Regions from separate parts of the Homo sapiens genome. Here region 2 is linked to region 1. The links are contacts of gene promoters, found by promoter capture Hi-C in blood cells and fetal thymus (Javierre and others, 2016). All regions are on one chromosome and are shown on one strand. The core of a region is centred on a gene start or on the middle of the fragment in contact, and the rest is flanking DNA. Distances in the headings are between cores, read along the strand shown. Region 1 holds the start of AKAP10 (A-kinase anchoring protein 10). Region 2 holds the start of USP22 (ubiquitin specific peptidase 22).

What was found. The method cuts DNA at HindIII sites, captures the fragments that hold promoters and counts their contacts. A CHiCAGO score of 5 or more calls a contact.
Region 2: a contact is called between a fragment that was not itself captured here and the fragment with the promoter of AKAP10 in region 1, in 4 of 17 cell types (fetal thymus, total CD8 T cells, total B cells and 1 more). The highest score is 7.3, in fetal thymus.

What each region holds. Positions count from the first base shown.
Region 1 is chr17:19,975,232-19,982,908 of GRCh38, reverse strand. It overlaps AKAP10 (A-kinase anchoring protein 10), which reads left to right and starts at 5,081. Exons shown (of 15, transcript NM_007202.4): 1 at 5,081-5,317. The coding sequence starts at 5,230. RefSeq lists an enhancer at 3,998-4,711 and a silencer at 5,184-5,373. The HindIII fragment of the contact is 5,200 bases long and covers 1,773-6,972 here.
Region 2 is chr17:21,035,447-21,043,123 of GRCh38, reverse strand. It overlaps USP22 (ubiquitin specific peptidase 22), which reads left to right and starts at 113. Exons shown (of 13, transcript NM_015276.2): 1 at 113-459. The coding sequence starts at 289. RefSeq lists an enhancer at 1-292 and a silencer at 1-427. The HindIII fragment of the contact is 633 bases long and covers 2,900-3,532 here.

The DNA of each region.
Region 1 (7,677 bases), core at 3,832-6,331:
CTGCCTCAGCCTCCGGAGTAGCTGGGACTAAAGGCGCCCGCCACCACGCCCGGCTGATTTTTTTGTATTTTTCGTAGAGTTGGGGTTTCACCGTGTTAGCCAGGATGGTCTCGATCTCCTGACCTCGTGATCTGTCCGCCTCGGCCTCCCAAAGTGCTGGGATTATAGGCGTGAGCCACCGCGCCCAGCCTCTTTTTTTTTTTTTTTTAGACGGAGTCTTACTCTGTCATCTAGGCTGGTGTACAGTGGCGTGATCTCAGCTCAGTGCAACCTCCACCTCCTGCCTCAGCCTGCCAAATAGCTGGGATTACAGGTGCGTACCATCACGCCCGGCTAATTTTTGTATTTTCAGTAGAGATGGGGTTTCACCATGTTAGACAGGCTGGTCTCGAACTCCTGGCCTCAAGTGATCTGCCTGCCCCAGCCTCCCAAAGATTACAGGCATGAGCCACCGCACCCGGCCAAGTAGCACTCCTTTGAAGGTAATCTGCTTCCCCTACCCCTAGCAATTTTTAACAATTTTTCTTCATTTTTATTTCCTGAAGTTTTGTTATTAATAATCTGTGTGCAGATTTCTTTGTATTTCTTTTGTTTGCAGTTCATAGTGATTCTTGAATTAGTGTGTTGGTTTCTGTTATCACCACAGGAAAATTGTCAGCCGTTAGCTTTTCAAATATTTCCTTGCTAAATTCTCTCTTCTCCCCTTTCGGTACAATTGATTTGATTAAAACTAAAACCAGGGCCGGGTGCAGTGACTCATGCCTGTAATCCCAACACTTTGAGAGGCTGAGGCAGGTGGATCACCTAAGCTCAGGAGTTCAAGACCAGCCTGGCCAATATGGTGAAACCCCGTCTCTACTAAAAATACAAAAATTACCAGGCATGGTGGCACACATTTGTAGTCAGGAGGCTGAGGCAGGAGAATTGCTTGAATCCAGGAGGTGGAGGTTGCAGTGAGCTGAGATCCCACCACTGCAGTCTGGCCTGGGCGACAGAGTGAGATGAGAATCTGTCTCGAAAAAAAAAGTTATGAATGTTTGATAAACTATATTTGTTAGAATGTTTGTTGTAGAATACTATTCATTGATTTTTAAACAATGTTAGATTAAACCATTCACTGGATTTGTGATAATTAACTTACTGATTTTACCTCACTGATTTGTTGTAATTAATACAACTGGTATAAAAAGACTGTGACGAGGCCGGGCATGGTGGCTCCCGCCTATAATCCCAGCACTTTGGGAGGCTGAGGCAGGCGGATCACCTGAGGTCAGGAGTTCAAGACCAGCCTGACCAACATGGTGAAACCCCATCTTTACTAAAAATACAAAATTAGCCGGTCGTGGTGGTGCATGCCTGTAATCCCAGCTCTTCGGGAGGCTGTGGCAGGAGAATCACTTGAACCCGGGAGGTGGAGGTTGCAGTGAGCCGATATCGCGCCATTGCACTCCAGCCTGGGCAACAAGAGCGAAACTCCGTCTAAAAAAAAAAAAGAAAAAAAACACATAAAACAAAACAACACTGTGACGGTTCCCAAAAATTAGGAGCATAATTAAAGGAACTCCTGATAAAAATTAATTTTATCTTACATGTAAACTAAAATGACTTTATGAAGTTAATTCAGAAATACAATGCAGGGTATTAGTTTGCCACAGCTGCGTATTCAGCCTAATGTAATATTCTTGTTATTTTTAAATTCTTCTTTTAACTTTACTCATATGTGGATCATCAAATTTCAAAAGATTAAATGACAATACTCTTAGCAGCAAGCTTCCCTAAGCATATAAACATTTTAATGGGTGATGATTCAGAAGGTACCCGAAGAATATGTACTGCCAGATATCATTCACCCCCATATACCTGCCCGACAGACATCCCATTTTGGGACCCTGGATAAATGTGTGGGTGGAGAGAAAGATAGGAGAAAGTGGTATAAGCAAATGGCTTTGGAGTCTGATTGACAGCGATTGAAATCCTGTCTCTACCTCTTAACAGCCTCATGATCCTACATAAGTTACCCCGATCCTCAGGGCCACATCTGTAAATTGGGGGTTGCGATGGCAGCCATCTCACAGGGTCTCTTTTCGGGGAAGGGCAGGAATTATGGATTAAGTGAGCTAGTAATTGTAAAGCACTTAATACAAGGAGGGCGCATAATAAGTACTTCATAAATAATGACGGCCATTATCATGACTGAGGTGTATGCAGCTGTCGGGGATTACGGCGACTTCAGAATTTCTGGTGGGCAGGGCTCAAAGGCAGCAAATCACACTGGAAGTCGAGGTGAGGCACTGCTTCTGCACAGACTGCTTAGCTGGAGAGAATGAGGAAGGCTTAGAGGAGATTTAGAGGAACTTAGAGTCCTCCGCCTCCAACTCTGTGGGATCTGCTCCCGTGCCAGAGACATTCAGGGGATTTCTCGCACTCTCCCCTCCCCTACGTCCCTCCCGCCCCATCCAACTAACCACACAACACATACAAAATAGCCCCTGCGAGGTTCTGCACGCTGGAAGGGAACAGGAGAAGGGCGCTGCGCTTTCTTGCTGATGCCCTGTACTTGGGCCCCTGGTAGACACAGCCACTTGTCCCCTCAGCCTGCAGAGAAATCCCACGTAGACCGCGCCCGGGTCCTTGGCTTCAGCCAATCTCCCTTTGGTGGGGGTGGGATGCACGATCCAAGGTTTTATTGGCTACAGACAGCGGGGTGTGGTCCGCCAAGAACACAGATTGGCTCCCGAGGGCATCTCGGATCCCTGGTGGGGCGCCGCTCAGCCTCCCGGTGCAGGCCCGGCCGAGGCCAGGAGGAAGCGGCCAGACCGCGTCCATTCGGCGCCAGCTCACTCCGGACGTCCGGAGCCTCTGCCAGCGCTGCTTCCGTCCAGTGCGCCTGGACGCGCTGTCCTTAACTGGAGAAAGGCTTCACCTTGAAATCCAGGCTTCATCCCTAGTTAGCGTGTGACCTTGAGCAGTTGACTTTATTTTTCAGTGCCTAGTTTTCCAGATACCAGGACTGACTCCAAGGACTATTACTCATCTGGAGGGTTTAGCACAGTACCGTCGCATAGTAAATTTCCATGTCAGTTTTGGTTACCTTTCATGCACTTGCAAACATGCCATGCTCTGAAACGAAATAGGCACATCTTTTTTTTTTTTTTTTTTAAGGAGTCTTCCTCTCGCCCAGGCTGGAGTGCAGTGGCGCGATCTTGGCTCACTGCAACCTCCACCTCCCGTGTTCGAGATTCTCCTGCCTCAGCCTCCTGATTAGCTGGGACTACAGGCATGCCACGACGCCCAGTTAATTTTTGTATTTTTAGTAGAGACGGGGTTTCGCCATCTTGGCCAGGCTGGTCTAACTCCTGACCTCAGGTGATCTGACTGCCTCAGCCTCTCAAAGTGTTGGGATTACAGGCATAAGCCACTGCATCTGGCCAGAAATGAAATAAGTAAATCTTTTAACCTGCTCTAACAATATAGTGAAAAGACCATATTATTATTAGAGCAGGTTAAGGGATTTGCCTATTTCGGGTTCTAGTTATAGTCTTAAACTTGGACATTCTTGTAGAAAGTAAAAAGTTTCCTCTTCAAAGTTCCCCTTCTTGTTAAAGAATACATCATAAGTGTTAGAAGTAATAGTTTATTTTAAAGACTAACTTTCTTCAAGCCTCCTTGCTTTGTGCTAATAACTCTTTGTTAAGCCCTATCCTATGTAACTGTTGGACATGCTCACAGGCACGTTCCAGTTCACAGCCTATGCCCCTTCCTTATTTGGAAATGTTATTGCTTCCTTAAACCTTTCGGTAAGCAACTTCCTCTCCTTCTTCGTTCTTCCTTGCACTTACCTATTTAGAAAGTTTTAGGCTATTAGCAAATCGGCTATCAGTTTAAGAGTGTGAGGTCCCGCTCCAGCCAATGGATGCAGGACATAGCAGTGAGGACGACCCAAATGCGTAAGGGATAAATATGTTTGCTTTTCCTTTGTTCAGGTGTGCTCTCGACATCGTTCCATCTGCGATTGAGCACCCTTTCTGCAGAAAGTAAAGATTGCCTTGCTGGAGATCTTTTGTCTCCGTGCTGACTTTTCTTCGTGGCACCGATTATCTATTTCTAACAATTTTGGTATTTCTAACATTCTGAACAATCTTGGGCTAGTTGTCTCTTCTGGGCCTGTTTCCCCATCCGTCACATGATAAACTTCATTGGTTTAAAAACCCCAGCGAACATTTATTGAGTTACTATTACCTTCCTGCCCTCCCCAACCCCAACCCCAGGGAGCAGTTACAACCTCAGCCGCTGAGCGCACTCGCCGGGTGTTAAGAAGCACCAAAGACAGGGAGGCTTGATTGATTTTGCTTTGGGAGTAGAGGGTCAGAAGATTCACAGGAAAATGGCATTTGAGCAAGGATGATTCACTGGAGCTAGCTTTTAAATACTGGCGAGGCTTTTATGTTGCAGTCCCTTACAAAGTTGAGCATTCGCAGGGACTGCACTCCGAAATAAGCCCGCTTCCCCTTTTCATTCGCTAATGATCCAGGGAGCTGCTGGTTCCGCATGCGGCAGGTTGTGCCTTTTCCTAATCAGGGTTCTGCATCGCCTCGAACCCGCAGGCCGTGGCGGGTTCTCCTGAGGAAGCAGGGACTGGGGTGCAGGGTGAAGCTGCTCGTGCCGGCCAGCGCCTGTGAGCAAAACTCAAACGGAGGAGCAGGAGGGGTCGAGCTGGAGCGTGGCAGGGTTGACCCTGCCTTTTAGAAGGGCACAATTTGAAGGGTACCCAGGGGCCGGAAGCCGGGGACCTAAGGCCCGCCCCGTTCCAGCTGCTGGGAGGGCTCCCGCCCCAGGGAGTTAGTTTTGCAGAGACTGGGTCTGCAGCGCTCCACCGGGGGCCGGCGACAGACGCCACAAAACAGCTGCAGGAACGGTGGCTCGCTCCAGGCACCCAGGGCCCGGGAAAGAGGCGCGGGTAGCACGCGCGGGTCACGTGGGCGATGCGGGCGTGCGCCCCTGCACCCGCGGGAGGGGGATGGGGAAAAGGGGCGGGGCCGGCGCTTGACCTCCCGTGAAGCCTAGCGCGGGGAAGGACCGGAACTCCGGGCGGGCGGCTTGTTGATAATATGGCGGCTGGAGCTGCCTGGGCATCCCGAGGAGGCGGTGGGGCCCACTCCCGGAAGAAGGGTCCCTTTTCGCGCTAGTGCAGCGGCCCCTCTGGACCCGGAAGTCCGGGCCGGTTGCTGAATGAGGGGAGCCGGGCCCTCCCCGCGCCAGTCCCCCCGCACCCTCCGTCCCGACCCGGGCCCCGCCATGTCCTTCTTCCGGCGGAAAGGTAGCTGAGGGGGCGCCGGCGGGGAGTCAGGCCGGGCCTCAGGGGCGGCGGTGGGGCAGGTGGGCCTGCGAGGGCTTTCCCCAAGGCGGCAGCAAGGCCTTCAGCGAGCCTCGACCTCGGCGCAGATGCCCCCTGAGTGCCTTGCTCTGCTCCGGGACTCTTCTGGGAGGGAGAAGGTGGCCTTCTTGCGCGAGGTCAGAGGAGTATTGTCGCGCTGGTTCAGAAGCGATTGCTAAAGCCCATAGAAGTTCCTGCCTGTTTGGTTAAGAACAGTTCTTAGGTGGGGGTTAGTTTTTTTGTGTTTCTTTGAGGACCGTGGATCAAGATCAAGGAAATCTCTTTAGAACCTTATTATGGAAGTCTGAAGTTTCCAAATGTTGAGGGTTTTATGTCTAAAAGCAACACGTGAAAAAATTGTTTTCTTCACCCAGTGCTGTCTTCCAATTTCCTCTTTGGGGGGAGGGGTAGTTACTGCTGTTACTAAAATAAAATTACTTATTGCTAAAGTTCCCCAACAGGAAGACCACTACTTTTGATGACTTTGGCAAGTTTGCTAACTACTGGAACCCTAACTTACAAACGAACTACTTACATTTTTGATTTCCAGTTGTATTACCTGCCCAATGTTTACGTAGAAACAGCTTAATTTTGATTCTGGGTAACGTTGTTGCACTTCATTAAAAATACATATCCGAAGTGAGCAAGTATGGGTCTGTGGACAGCAGTGATTTTTCCTGTCAATTCCTGTTGCTTCAGATAAAATGTACCAGACAGAGGCCGGGCGCGGTGGCTCACGCCTGTAATCCCAGCACTTTGGGAGGCTTGGCGGGTGGATCACCTGAGATCGGGAGTTCAAGACCAGCCTGACCAACATGGAGAAACCCCGTGTCTACTAAAAATACAAAATTAGCCAGGGTGGTGGCGCATGCCTGTAATGCCAGCTACTTGGGAGGCTGAAGCAGGAGAATCGCTTGAACCTGGGAGGCGGAGGTTGCGGTGAGCCGAGATAGCACCATTGCACTCCAGCCTGGGCAAAAAGAGCGAAACTCCGTCTCAAAAAAAAAGTACCAGACAGAAATGGGTTTTGTTTTCTTTTTTTGTTTTGAGACGGAGTTTCGCTCTTGTTGCCCAGGCTCGAGTGCAATGGCGCGATCTCAGTCTCGGCTCACTGCAACCTCTGTCTCCCAGGTTTAATCGATTCTCCTGCCTCAGCCTCCCAAGTAGCTGGGATTACCCATGCCCCACCATGCCCGGCTAATTTTTGTATTTTTAGTAGAAACGGGGCTTCACCATGTTAGGCTGGTCTTGAACCCCTGACCTCAAGTGGGCCTCCCACCTCGGCCTCCCAAAGTGCCAGGATTACAGGCATGAGCCACCGCGGCCAGCCAGAAATGGGTTTTGGAAAAAGCACTAAACAAAATCGAACTTGGTTTCATATGACAGCTCTGCTGCTAACTGTAACAGGGGCAGACCAGTTAACCTACTTTTCTGTCTTCTGTCAGCTGAGAATTAGATGATTCCCAAAGGCCCATTGAACTCTGAATGACTTTAAATACTTCTTCTTAAGTGGGTACACGGTTTTGGTAACTGATGCCAGGTGATGAATGCATGAAAGTGCTTAATGAATGAAACCGGTAAAATAGTAGGAGGAAGCTTTATTGGTAAGGCAGGGGTATACCTAATAGCTCTCTAATTTATTGGTATTGAAGTGGTTAACTTTTGTTTTTTTAAGGGGGGAAAACATTCTAAGAATAATGAGGCAAACTGCATATTGCACAAGAGACTGTTGTCTCTATTCAACAAATACCTTTTGAGTGTCCAGAGTCTGCCAGGTGCTGTGCTAGGCCCTCACGATTGAGTAGTGAACCAGAGAATGTCCCTGCACCCATGGAGCTTATTGTCTACTGGGGTAGACAGATAATAAATAAGCAAACAAATCTTCTCTCTTCTCCCTTTCGCTCCATGTAAGTGTGTGTGTATAGGTGTATACTTACAAGTTGAGTAAAGTGTTATGAAAGATTAAGAGGAGAAATGCATTTTGGTTAGATGTTAGAGGACTCAGCAGGTGACCTTGAAACTTAGAGCTGAAGGATCAGTAGGAGGTAACTAGAGAGGCCAGGGAATCGCATGTTCAAAGGCCAGGAGGCAAGAAAGAGCATGGTGCCCTTCAAGAGAGGAAAGAAGGCTACTGTGACTGGAGCATAGATGTAGGCAAGTGTTGGGTGATTGAGAGCTCTACGGGCCATGGTTAGGTTTTATTCCTAATGCCGAGATGCCAAACATGGTGGTTCATATCTGTAATCCCAGTATTTTAGGAGGCCGAGGCAGGAATATAGCTTGAACCCAGGAGTTCAAGACCA
Region 2 (7,677 bases), core at 1,967-4,466, 1.1 Mb before region 1:
TGACGTAATCTCCGTCCGCGGCCGCGGCGCCCCGCCCCGCGACACCCTCCGCGAACCGCGAGAGCGCAGCGCAGGCGGTCCGCAGCAGCCGCAGCTCGGGGGCGGTGCCTGCCTTGCAGCCTCCCCTCGGCGATCGCGCAGCCCCATCTTTGTCCGGCCTCCGCGCTTTGTTCTCGGCGCCCGGGCCTTGGCCAGCCTGGCCAGCCGCCGAGCAGCCCCCACGCCGCGCTGGCGTCGTCCTCGCCTCCCTCGCCGCCGCCCCCCGCGCGCGGCCGGGCCTTGCCCCCCATGGTGTCCCGGCCAGAGCCCGAGGGCGAGGCCATGGACGCCGAGCTGGCGGTAGCGCCGCCGGGCTGCTCGCACCTGGGCAGCTTCAAGGTGGACAACTGGAAGCAGAACCTGCGGGCCATCTACCAGTGCTTCGTGTGGAGCGGCACGGCTGAGGCCCGCAAGCGCAAGGTGCGCCCGGCAGCCCACCGCGCGGCGGGCTCGGGGCCTTCTGCCGCTCCTGAGGCCGGCCGGCGGAGGGGCCCTTTTCCTGCCCTCTTCCCTTCCCCCGTTGCCTTTCCCTGTCCTTCCTCTTCCTCTCTCCTTCTGCCCTCTCTTCTCTTTACCCCTTCCCCCTCCTTTCCTTCCCCCCTCAACTCTCTCCCTTCCCTTATCTCCTCATCTTCCTATCCTTCCCCTCTCCCCCCTTCCCCCATTCTTCCTTTCCCTCCCCCTCCTCTCTGTCCCCTCCCCCTCCTCTCTGTCCCCTCCCCCTCCTTTCTCTCCGCCCTCCCCCTCCCTTATCCTTCTTGGCCCGGGAGGGGCGAGTGCTTCCGGGCCGGGGGTGGTGTTCTCCTGCCCTGCTGCCTGGGGAGCCTGGGACTTCGGTGGGCGGTCCCGGGCGTTCCTGCGCGAGGTCCTTGCGGGGAACTCTCCTGGTTCTGGAGGGTTCGGGGCTGGATGCGGGTGCAGAGAAAGAAATATTTCAAAAAAATGAGTAAAGGATGGGGGGCTGTCGAGTTCTGGGCGTTGGTCTGCAGCGGTCACCCGCCGCCAGGAGCGACCTTGGACGGGAGCTGGGGCAGGAGGCGGGCTGGGGGGCGCGGGGCCGGAGCTTCGCGGCTGCCTCGGGGCCCGCGAGGAGCTGGAGGTGGAGGGCGGCAGGGGCTGGGGCCGGGGCGAGCCTGTGGGTGCGGAGCCACAGCCCGGGTTTGCGTTGCGGCTGAGGAGTAGACTTGGAAGCGCGCCGTGGGCTGTGGGAGGCCTTAACCAGGAGTGAGTCCCCTCGGGGAGCCCAGTCTTGCGTCCCGCAGTTAGGCTTGGTAAGGGTTTGGAAATCAAAACGTAACGTGATTCTTCTATGTGAATAAAGTTTATTTTTACAGTTTCACGCGCTTTTGTAGATTACAATCCGAGATTGGGAGTTGTGAGGGCAGTTTCCACCTTGAGTGGCATTTTTTTATTTATGGGAATACCAACAGGCTCGCTGAGATTGTAGGGTATGTTAAGCAGTAATTCAAAAAAAAAATTATTTTTTTGAGACGAAGTCTCGCTTTGTACCCCAGGCTGGAGTGCAGTGGCGCGATTTCGGCTCACTACAATCTCCGCCTCCCGGGTTCAGCCGATTCTCCTGCCTCAGCCTCCTGAGTAGCTGGGATTACAGGCTCCTGCTACCACGCCCGGCTAATTTTTGTATTTTTAGTAGAGACGGGGTTTCACCATGTTGGCCAGGCTGGTCTGGAACTCCTGATCTCAGGTGATCCACCCGCCTCTGCCTCCCAAAGTGTTGGGATTACAGGCATGAGCCACCGTGCCCGGCCTCAAAATTTTTTTTATCTGTAATGGTATCAGGTAGCGTTATGTCTGGATGAACTAAAATCAGACATAAAACGTTTCAGGATCGGAGTTAGAGTCTTGCTAGTAGAATTGTGTGTCTTTAAGAAAAGATGGCCTGGCTTGGCGCGGTGGCTGACGCCTGTAATCCCAGCACGTGGGGAGGCCGAGGGGGGCAGATCACGAGGTCAGGAGTTCGAGACCAGCCTGGCCAACATGGTGAAACCTCATCTCTACTAAAAATACGAAAAGTAGCCGGGTGTGATGGCGGGCGCCTGTAATCCCAGCTACTCCAGAGGTTGAGGCAGGAGAATCACTTCAACCCGGGAGGCGGAGGTTGCAGTGAGCAGTGATCGCGCCACTGTACTCCAGACTGGGTGACAGAGCAAGACCCCCTCCGGAAAAAAAAAAAAAAGGGTGGCCTGGTTGAAGCCAGTCTTCTACAGGGAATGTGCTGTTGCTACTCTGGGTCAGTAGTGTCCGGATTGGGACGTGACGCGCCCAAGATTTGTTACTACTTTGGATGAAGTGGGGACCGCCCCACTCTTCCTCTCCCTCCTTTTCTTTTTCCGTTCCCTCCCTCCCTCTCCCTTTCTTCCCCCCTCTGGTATTTTTTAACCAAATAGAAGGAGTCAAGTTTAAACCATCATTAACTAACTTTGCCTAATTTCCTAAAGTTAAGAATTACTTTTTTTTTTTGCGCTACTTATGGCTCTGATTAATCTTTTAATTTCAGATGTCAGTTGCTTAGTTTCAAAACTGTTGAGCCACATGTATGTTATTCACCAATTAGAAGTTGAACTGTAGTCGGGTAGTGAAAAATATTTCTTTCAAAATTTAGGTGGGGGCTGCTGCAGTGCCAGTTGGCAGTGTGCCAGCAAGGAGCCCTTAAGCCCTCCATGCTTTTTCCTCTGACTGGGGGGACTTATTTACCTGTATCACTTCATGTGCGGTGTCCTGCATTTCTAGCACTCTCTAGTGGCCCAGTTAAGGAAGAGTTGGTTTGGGAAATAGTTTAACAAACCTGATGATTAACAGTTGGACAATCTGCATAGGATTTCCATCAGATCTGTAAGCTTAGGACATTTTGTTTTTTAAATTTTATTTTATTAAAAATTATTTTTTGTAGAGACAGAGTCTTGCTCTGTTACCCAGGATGGAGTGCAATGGTCTGGTCAGTGATCACTGCAGCCTCAGATTCCTGGACTCCAGCCTCTCCTGAGTAGCTGGGACTACGGGCGTGTGTCACCACGACCGGCTAATATTTGTAGAGACAGTGTCTCACTATATTGCACAGGCTGGTCTTGAACTCCTGGACTCAAGCCATCCTCCTGTCTCCCAGAGTGCTGGGATTACAGGCCAGAGCCACTGAGCCCAGCCATATTTTTGGTTTTAATGATATGAACTTGACTGTAAAAGTACTTTAAGCTGATGATTGTGCCACTGTACTCCAGCCTGGACAACAAAACCTATCTCAAAACAAACTTCAACTTGAATTATAATCTTTGTAAACAAACAAAGGTACTTTTTGAGATGGACATCTCAGGTACAGTTTAAAGAAATGAATCCCTGAATGAATAGGAATTACGAGTTTTGTTATCTAAGGACAGATGGATTATGCATTTTGTACCCAAACTTTGATTCTTCTTTTAACAGGCAGAACATGACAAAAACATGACCAGGCTTGATAAATTTCTGTCCAAAAGAAGCTTGAATTGCAGTAAAACTCTGTTTTTTGAGATGGGGTTTTCACTCTTTTTGCCCAGGCTGGAGGGCAATGGCGTGATCTCGGCTCACCACAGCCTCCCCCTCCAGGGTTTAAGTGATTCTCCCAAGTAGCTGGGATTACAGGCATGCGCCACCATGCCTGGCTAATTTTGTATTTTTCGTAGAGATGGGGTTTCTTCATGTTGGTCAGACTGGTCTCGAACTCCCAACCTCAGGTGATCCGCCCATCTTGGCCTCCCAAAGTGCTGGGATTACAGGCATGAGCCACCGCGCCTGGCCCGAATTGCCATAAAACTCTTGTATTGCAGACTATAAAAATATTTCTGCCGGGCATGGTGGCTCACGCCTGTAATCCCAGCACGTTGGGAGGCCGAGGCGGGCGGATCACGAGGTCAGGAGATCGAGACCATCCTGGCTAACACGGTGAAACCATGTCTTTACTAAAAATACACAAAATTAGCTGGGCATGGTGGCACGCGCCTGTAATCCCAGCTACTCGTGAGGCTGGGGCAGGAGAATCGCTTGAACCAGGGAGGCGGAGGTTGCAGTGAGCCGAGATCGCACCACTGCACTCCAGCCTGGGCGACAGAGCGAGACCGTCTCAAAAAAAAAGAAAAAAACTATTTCCATGATTTAGGACTGGCACGACCACAGTGGCGTCTCCTTTGTGTTTTTGGTGTGTGTTAAATATAACAAATTTCTTACCATTTCAGGGTTTGTCTGTAAAGATAGGAACTGGCAGGAAGTGATTATGATTTAACATTCTACATTATATTTTGAATATAGACACTTTGGAGAACAGGTAATGTTTTTAAAACCATTTCTCTCTTTGAATCTAAAATTTTATGGCACTGTGTCCTCAAAACACTTTTTTAAATTTTTTATTTTTTATGTATTTTTTTTTTTTTTGAGACAGGGTCTGTCTCTCACTCAGGCTGGAGTGCAGTGGTATGATCATGGCTCACTGCAGCCTCGAGTTCCTGGGGTCCAGTGATCCTCCTGCCTCAGCCTCCCAAGTAGCTGGGACTACAGGCATGCGCCACCGCACCTGGCTAATTTTTGTATTTTTGGTAGCCATGAGTTTTGCCATGTTGCCCAGGCTGGTCTTGAACTTCTGAGCTAAGTGATCCTCTCTCCTTGGCCTCCCAAAGTGCTGGCATTACAGGCATGAGCCACCTCTCCCAGCCATCCAACAATGCCTCAGTCTGTCTTTACTGGCTCAGCCAGGTGCTGGGATGGTGGTGAGCACATTGTAGAGAGCTCTCATTACTTGTTTTTATTTTCATAGTCTAGCTCATTTTCCTGATACGTGCTATTGTATTTATTTATTTATTAAAAAAAAATAAAAGACTGAGTCTCCCTATGTTGCCCAGGCTGGTCTTGAACTCCTGGCCTTAGGAGATTCACTTCGGCCTCCCACAGTGCTGGGATGATATGTGCTATTTTAAAAGTATACTTTAAAACTTTGTTTCTTTGAGGAATTTACTTTTTATTTTATAGTGAACTGGATCTTTCAAATCATCACAACAAAACATTACACCATTCATACTAAGTGGGGTCTAAGTAAAAGATCTAAAATGTAAACATTTTTCTGTTTAAGGTTTTAATTTTGAGGTCATTGTAGATTGACATACTGGTGTAAGAAAATAGAGTAATCCTGTGTATCTTTCCCCAGTCCTCTAAGGGTAACTTCTTGCAGAAATGGAGTACAATTACCACCAGAATATTGACATTGATACAGTCTATCTTCAATATAATCCACCATCTCATTCAGATTTCCCCGCTTTTACTTCTACTCATTTGTGTTTGTGTATTTAGTTCATTAACTACACTGCATACTTTATTCAGAACTCATTGGTTTTTATGTAATGTCCTTATTCTGTCTCAGAATCCCACATTACTTTGAGTCTTCACGTCCTCTTGGGCTCTTCTAGACAGTGACAGTTTCTCAGGCTGTCCTGTTTGGTGACCTTGAGAGTTTTGAGGAGTCCCGGTCATGTAGTTTGTAGAATGTCCCTCAGTTTTGGTTTTCTGATGTTTTTCTCATGATTCAGCTGTGGTTATGAGTTTTGGGAAGGAAGACCAGGGAGATGAAGTGCCCTTCTCATTCCCGTAAATTAAGGATGATGCTGTCAAGATGTCTTGGGTTGCTGGGCTTGACTGAATGGCCGAAGTCATGTTTGCCAGGTTTCTCCACTGTGGAGTGACTCTTTCCCTCCTTTATGTACTGTTTATAATAGAAGGGAGTCACTCTGCATAGGTACTCTACCGGGGTGGGGAGTTCTGTTCCTCCTCCTTGAGGATGGAGTAGCTACTTAAATTATTTGGAACGTTTATGTATGGAAGATTTGCTGATCCTCACTCGTGTGTTTATTCATTTGTGTATATCAACATGGACTTGTGGATATTGAATGTATGCTTTGGGTTATCATCCAGTGCTGTGTGGTTTGTTGTGTTGCTCCCATCATCTGGCTGTATCCACTGGGAGCTCTTTCAGCTGGCTCCGGTGTCCCTTTCACATAGCCACATTATTTTTTGTTCGTTGTTTTTGAGCACTTCCTTACTTTCTGGAACTACACGATGTTCTGGGATCATCTTATGTGTTTTCTGCCCCAGCCTTAGACTCCAGCATTTTCCAAGGATCCCTAGTTTCTTTTTTGGGAGAATGGAATTAGATCTCAAGATCTGGGCACTGGTGTGTTCATCATTACTGGGATATCCTGGCTTCTTGGCCCCCTCAAGGGACAGAGCTGGGAAACAGGTGTGTATATACAAATGCGTGCATATACACGTCTGTAATTTGATATATATTCATCAGCATCCCTATTAAGCTCTACATGAGTTCATGTTTATATCTCCAACTCTAATCCATTTCTATAGGGATTATTCTAGCCTTCCCCTCCAGTTTATCTGTAACTTCTCTGTCCAGCAGAGAAAATGCTGGCTCCCACTGTCGACAATCTACTTACTTACCTGTTGTGCTTTGGTATACATGAAGAGAGGTTTCAGAATTGTCCTGTACTCCCTTGGGAAATGACTTGACCCCCCCCCCCCTTACAGTACAGTGCTCAGTTACAGTTCCTTTTGCTTTTAGTCTTACACTCCCTCCTCATTTCCACATTACTTAGGTACTTCCCTCCCCACCCCTCTTGGCGGAGTTGTGTCCTATATGTGTAATACAATTGGTTTCTTCTGCCTCAGCCTGCATTCCATAGGGCCTCATCAGTTATTTTTAAAATCGCATATATTAAGGTTTGCTCTTTGTGCTTTAAAGCTCAGTGGATTTTGACAGAGGCATCCACAACTACAGTACTGTACAGAACAGTTGCACTGCCCCAAGAAATCCCTGTGCTTCACCTTCTAACTCTCCACAACCACTGGTCTCGTCTCCATCTCGGAGGTTTTTCCCTTTCCAGAATGTCATATCATTGGGTTCATACAGTCTGTAGCCTTTTCATACTGGCTTCTTTTGTCTAGCAATATCCATTGTATCCATTGAGTGGATTGAAAGTTCATTCCTTTTTTTTTTTTTTTTTTTTTTTTTGAGACGGAGTCTTGCTCTGTCGCCCAGGCTGGAGTGCAGTGGTGCGATCTCGGCTCACTGCAAGCTCCGCCTCCTGGGTTCACGCCATTCTCTTGCCTCAGCCTCCCGAGTAACTGGGACTACAGGCGCCTGCCACCACGCCCAGCTAATTTTTTTGTATTTTTAGTAGAGACTGGGTTTCACTGTGTTAGCCAGGATGGTCTCGATCTCCTGACCTTGTGATCTGTCTGCCTCAGCCTCCCGAAGTGCTGGGATTACAGGCGTGAGCCACCGCGCCCAGCCGAAAGTTCATTCCTTTTTCTTTTAATGGTATTTATCATGTGGCTATACTGGTAAGTCGTTTAAGTTTCTTAATCTGTAGGTTCTCTCTTCATTCCTTTCTTACAGTTTTTTGCTTCTACTTTATCTGTTGAAAAACTTGGGCCTTGTGACTTGTTGACTTCCCTATAGTCTGGATTTTGCTGTTTGCATACTCAACAGTGGAAGTTCAAAGTGTTGTGGTTTGTTTTTTTTTTGTCCTATTTCCTACAAATTGGTAGCAGGGTCTCCTATTAAGGCTTTTCCTGTATTTAGCACACAGACTT